Linked DNA regions of Homo sapiens: region 2 is linked to region 1. The links are contacts of gene promoters, found by promoter capture Hi-C in blood cells and fetal thymus (Javierre and others, 2016). All regions are on one chromosome and are shown on one strand. Each heading gives the region's core, a stretch centred on a gene start or on the middle of the fragment in contact. The rest is flanking DNA. Distances are from core to core; before and after follow the strand shown.

The links. The method cuts DNA at HindIII sites, captures the fragments that hold promoters and counts their contacts. A CHiCAGO score of 5 or more calls a contact.
Region 2: the fragment with the promoter of PRKAG2-AS2 here is called in contact with a fragment that was not itself captured in region 1 in 1 of 17 cell types (M1 macrophages); the score reaches 6.9 in M1 macrophages.

The regions. Positions count from the first base shown.
Region 1 is chr7:151,516,723-151,519,700 of GRCh38, reverse strand. It overlaps RHEB (Ras homolog, mTORC1 binding), which reads left to right. Exons shown (of 8, transcript NM_005614.4): 1 at 1-241. The coding sequence starts at 190. Among named protein-coding and RNA genes, the nearest start is that of RHEB, 1.7 kb to the left of the region's middle. RefSeq lists silencers at 1-125, 296-415, 126-555, 486-595 and an enhancer at 1,626-1,675. The HindIII fragment of the contact is 161 bases long and covers 1,350-1,510 here.
Region 2 is chr7:151,805,017-151,807,907 of GRCh38, reverse strand. PRKAG2-AS2 (PRKAG2 antisense RNA 2) reads right to left here and starts at 1,570. Exons shown (of 3, transcript NR_171033.1): 1 at 872-1,570; 2 at 273-536. All of the region lies in intron 1 of PRKAG2 (protein kinase AMP-activated non-catalytic subunit gamma 2), which reads left to right. The HindIII fragment of the contact is 22,647 bases long and covers 1-2,891 here.

The DNA of each region.
Region 1 (2,978 bases), core at 181-2,680:
GGGCGCCGCCGCGCGGTCGGTTCCGGGCGGTTGGGAGCGCGCGAGCTAGCGAGCGAGAGGCAGCCGCGCCCGCCGCCGCCCCTGCTCTGTATGCCGCTCTCTCCCGGCGCGGCCGCCGCCGATCACAGCAGCAGGAGCCACCGCCGCCGCGGTTGATGTGGTTGGGCCGGGGCTGAGGAGGCCGCCAAGATGCCGCAGTCCAAGTCCCGGAAGATCGCGATCCTGGGCTACCGGTCTGTGGGTGAGTGGCCGGTGGCCGCGCGGCCTCCTCGCGCCGCCGGGGCCTCGCCTGGGAGCCGGGTCGCGGCCGGGCCTGCGAAGTTTGGAGCCGGCGCGGCCATGTGGCGGGGCGGGCGGGGGCCGCGCGTTTCGTAACCACCATTCTGAGCGGAGGTGGTGGCGGTCGGGGCGGCGTCCGCGCCGGTGGAGGAGCCGCGGTAGCTGGGCGCCCTCCGCGGGCCGGGCGGGCAGGTGGCGGCCGGGCGGAGGGCGTGGGAGGCGCGGGGCGGGGGCCGTCGGCCGCCGAGGAGTCCGGGTCTCGTCTGGGGAAGTGAGGCGGCGCCGGGGAGCCGCGCTAGAGGCTGCCGCGAGGGAGTCACACCTGCCTCCCCGCCTTCGCCGCGGGCGCGCGTGACCGGGGCTGGCGGTCTCCCCCACCCCGCCCCCGATGTAAGGAAAAGAAAGTCCGTGGGATTTTAACAAAGGAAGCAGCGCCTCGGCTTCATTCCATCTGTGGTGAAGTTTACCCTTGTAAAGAAAACTAGGGATTTAGAGGACGTTTGGGCACTGAACGCAAGTTTTCTGCATAGGAAACCTAGGCGATCCCCCAAAAGAGGTCCCTCTGGAGGCCCTCGAGATGCTGCTGGCGGCCTGGGTAGGAAGACAGAGAAAAAGGAATGTCTGATCTCTCGGTGCCCTATTTTTGTTCGGGAAGGAATAAGGTCAGGTACTTGCAACCAGGCTGTTGAAGTAATTCCAAAGTCTTTTTGTTTTCTTTTTCTTCCCCCAAAAGGTTGACATACATTTGAAACAGTTCCTAGCAGTCGCCTTATTGCTGAATAAGGTGGCTTAGGGTCGGGTTGGGGGGCGGACGGGGTGTTACAGAACGAGCGGTTTTCTGGCCTGTGTGAAACCAGAGCGATTGAACTTAGACACGCTTCAGGGTGAGGCTGTATTGTCTCCCGACATCCGGAAGCCTGGAGAAATTAGTTCATCTTTTCGGGCTGTTTTGAAGTAACTGTCTATAGAAGGCGTGCACCGGGCCACAGTTGAGGGGATGGGGAGGTGAAAGCGAGGGTTCCGAGGCTCCCGTGATTGCGGAACGGGGTGACTATCTGTCATGGGAAGCTTGTACCTGCCTGCCGCTCACTGGATGCACTCCCCAACTGCGCTTTCCACCGCCTGTGCCAGGGTCTGTGCTCTTTGACCAAGATCAGCCACTGCATGCTTACTCATCCTTTTACCACCTCTCCGTCGAGAGCCGGGGGGAAATTAAGGGCTGAAAGAAGCTTGGCTAGAGATGCGGGGTGCCTAGAGTCGTAGGGGAACTCTTGTGCGATGCGGTGCTGAATCCGAGGGGATGCATAGGTGGCAGCTTTAACAGCTGCAGCCAGGAAGTAACCATGAATCAAATGGAGGGGTTCAAAGTCACTAATTGTTCAAATATCAACATGGAACCTGGGATCCAGCCTTTATTGGCAGCCTGAATCCATGCTCTTGTCTCTGTTCTCTTGATTTCCTCCTCTGCATTTTGAGGAGTTGGGACCGCGAGGTGTTCTGGCTCTTGGGTGAGCCTTCCCTAGTCAGTCAAGTAAGTACTTATTGGCAACTATTTGGAAATAGTAGTCCCTGAATAATCACGTTATAGGCAACAAGTACCTCGGCTACCTGATTTCAACCCAAGAGAATGACCTAAAGATCTTGACTGATTTACCCTTTTCAAATGTCGAAATGGTAGCTCTAGTCTTTGGTGAGCAGGGCTAGTTTTATCACTTTTTTTTTTTTTTTTTTGGCTACAGAAGTTCCTTATGTCCAGTTGAAATCCATTCTGTTTTATCTTCCCTCTATTCAGCGTCCTCCTGAGGACGGAGATGTGACAGGCCACCCCTTAGCCTTGTCCTCACAAACTGTTGCTTGTTAAATACTGTGCTAACTTAGTCTCCGGTGGGATACAGGGTCACTTTTAGTCCCTATTTTCTGTCTTCAGTATTTCATATTTCTGCAACCTACCCCACTTCTCCATATTTATTTTCAAGCGTAGTCATATTAAACGATTTTGGAGAGGTTAAGTTGCTCCCAATCTTGTATTTGATTTTTTTTTTTTTTTTTTTCCGAGACGGAGTTTCGCTCTTGTGACCCAGGCTGGAGTGCAATGGCGCGATCTCGGCTCACTGCATCCTCCACGCCCCGGACTCAAGCGATTCTCCTGCCTCAGCCTCCAGAGTAGCTGGCACTACAGGCGTGCACCACTATGCCCGGCTAATTTTGTATTTTTAGTAGAGACGGGTTTCACCACTTGGCCAAACGTCAGGCTTGTCTCAAACGCCTGACCTCAGGTGGTCCTCCCACCTTGGCCTCCCAAAGTGCTGGGATTATAGGCGTGAGCCACCATGCCCAGCCGCATTTGATTTTAAAGTGTATTATGAGCCAGGATATTTTGTAGTATGTGGGGTCTTTTTTAGGGGAAGGAGATTAGGTTTTGCCAGCAGGTTTCTTCTAGTAAGCCACCCTTTTGAGAATTACTCAGCATGCTCACTTCTGGGAGCTTACTGGCATGTTTGCTTGCAAATGGTGGTGCTGTACCAGAGAAATTTGAGTACCTGTGTTTCTAGATTGTGGTATTTTGTGATGCTGAGCTGTTTGTCCTATATTCTGGGGGTAGAGCCACATAAAAAGCCTCCACACCTTTCTTAGAATGTTCTCTTGATTAAATACATTAAGCCAGTTTGACTAGTAGGATACTTGTCATTGTGATTTGT
Region 2 (2,891 bases), core at 321-2,820, 290 kb before region 1:
ACAGGCTTCCCCCGACTTTTATTCTCCAAGCGGTTTTTCTGTTTGGCCGTTGTCTCCACCGCATCCAGATTTATCTCTTCTCTCCCCTATGCCTTTTGGGTCTTCTGAGAGTAGCTAATCCAATAACCCGCCAAGTCAGAGAAGGGTTCGGATGCACGAGTTCTCGCTCCTGGCTTCCTCTGAAATGCTGCCTTGACCCAAGTGAGGGGCCCGGGAATAGGCAGTGGAAACGGTTGTGTAGGTTTGGGACATCGCACCCTGCTGGGACTTACCTGTTGGAGAAACTGGGCTTTTGGTGGCAAACGAATCATTCTTCCTACCTCCGTGGCAGCTGTGCATCTACGCTGGGTTCTGGAAGGCGCAGTGCTGGCCATTTCAGCTCGTAGGTTGGGAAGAAGGGGCAGTGTGCCCGATCTGATAGGTGTAACACGCCATGGTGCTTTGGCACCAAGAGGCCAATTGAAACTGGAGAGTTTTAGAGAATAAAGTATGACCGTCACCCACAGCACAGCTGCTTCCTGAAAATTCCACTCCCGCTGCATGAAAAAGCACATGGAGTATTCCAGGATTCTTAATATAGGCATTTTCCCACGTTCTGTAGATTGCTTGTTTTTCTTCCCCTATCCCATGGGTCTGCTGGTGGCTGACTGGCCACTTTTTGGTCAGCTTTATTGAGGTGTGATTTACATATAATGCCCTTTGACTGACAGTATACAATTAGATGGGTTGTCGTAAGTGTGCACAGTCATGTGACCACCGCCACAGTGTGATCTGGAACATTTCCACCACTCCACAAGGTCCCTCTGACCCTTTACAGCCTCTGCCCTTCCCCACCTCCACCTTCAGACTTGAGGGTGGGTCCATGTCTTACCTTTGTGTATCCCATGTCCAGCGCAATTCTGAACCCAGGTGGACACAAGTGATGTTTAAATGAGTACATTAGGAGGCCTGGCTTTTTTTTTTCCCCAGGCTGGAGTGCAATGGTGCGATCTTGGCTCACTTCAACCTCCATCTCCCAGGTTCAAGCGATTCTCGTGGCTCAGCCTCCTGAGTAGCTGGGACTACAGCATGCACCAACACGCCCAGCTAACTTTTTATAGTGTTAGTAGAGACAGGGTTTTGCCATGTTGCCCAGGCTGGTCTTGAGCTCCTGAGCTCAGGTGGTCTGCCCGTCTCCACCTCAAAGTCCTCAGGTTACAGGTGTGAGCCACTGTACCCAGCCAGCTCTGGCATATTTTAAAAATCCTCCCAAGACTCCTTCTGTCTCCTCCCATTGATCCTAAATTTTGAAGGATTGTCCACCCAAGCATTTGTTAATTAGTAATTTCTTCATTTAGTCACTCACTCCTGGTACCAGCCTTCCTGATCAGCCTGAGATAATCAGCGTGACCGAAGTTGATAACATTCCAGCTGAAAGCAGAGACTTGCTGTTCTCGTTTGCCTATGCAGTCACGGGTGAAATGTGCAATTTCCTTTCCGTTCCTTGAGTGCCTGCGAGCACTGCGAGAGCCTCCATTGTTACTTTCTGTTATCTCTCACCCTAGACCAGAAATCGCCAGCCTTCACCACTGGCCTCTGCCTTTTTCTTTTTTCTTTTAATAATAAATGAGGAAGTTAGCCCTTGAGCAATTTAGGAGTTCACCCAAGAGCACCCCAAAAGGCTTGAAGTTTACAGGGATTTTTCTCTGTCCCAAACTGTTTGTTGTTGTCATAGTTGTTGAGACGGAGTCTCGCTCTGTCGCCCAAGCTGGGGTGCAGTGGTGGGATCCTGGCTCACTGCAACCTCCGCTTCCCGGGTTCAAGCGATTCTCCTGCTTCAGCCTCCTGAGTAGCTGGGACTACAGGCGGCCACCACCACGCCCAGCTAATTTTTGTATTTTTAGTAGAGACAGGTTTGGCCAGGCTGGTCTAGAACTCCTGACCTCAGGTGATCAGCCTGCCTTGGCCTCCCAAAATGCTTGGACTATAGGCGTGAGCCACTGTGCCCAGCCTGTCCTAAACTTTGTCACCAAGGATTTGATGTGTCCCTTCATTCTGCCTTCCTGAGCTCCCTTTCACTTGTACGTTGGGGAAGGATCTTGGCAAACCTGAAGGTAAGGTGGAATCTGCCTCTTTCCTCTCATCAAAGCTCTGAGAAGGAAGAATCTGTAGTGTCCCTGGGTTCAGTAATCATAGTATATTGCCTCTAAACTCAGTGAAGCATTTTAAAGTGATAACTCATGTTTTCCAAATGAGTCCCAGGCATCACAGCCATGTCTTTGTTAACTCATATGTGGTTCTATACTTCTATATGTTAACTCATTTTCCAGTAGGAACTCCCATGATTCCCAGTTTTTAGATTAAAAAACAGAGAAATGAAGTAACTTTCCCAGGGTTACATAGTCACAAGATCACCTATTGCTACATAACAAACCACCCCAAAACTTAAAAATATGATTTGAAATCATCTTTCATGGATTTAGGAGTCATCTGGCTCAGCTGAGTTCTCACTGGGGGTTCCTCCTATTTGAAAAGTCAGGTGGCAGCTGAGCCTGGCACATCCTAGAGGCTCCTTCACTCTCACATCACTCCCTGGGGCTGGCCGTGCAGCTGTTTCTCCATCCGTGCAGCCTCTCCACGTGGCTGGCTTGAGCTTCCTCATAACATGGTGGTCTTGGTGCAGATTCCTAACGTGGCAGCTGGTTTCACCCGCGGCAGACATTACAAGAGATCCAGGAGGAACTGCGAGGTTCCTTCTCACCTAACCCAGAAGTCAGGTGGTGTGGTTTCTGCTGCATTTCTGTTGAGCACAGCTGCCCCAACTCAAGGATGGAGGAACAGATTCGCCCACTCAACAGGAGACAGCACATGTATGCAGGGAGGGACCACATTCCTAGTGGCTGTCCTGTGGG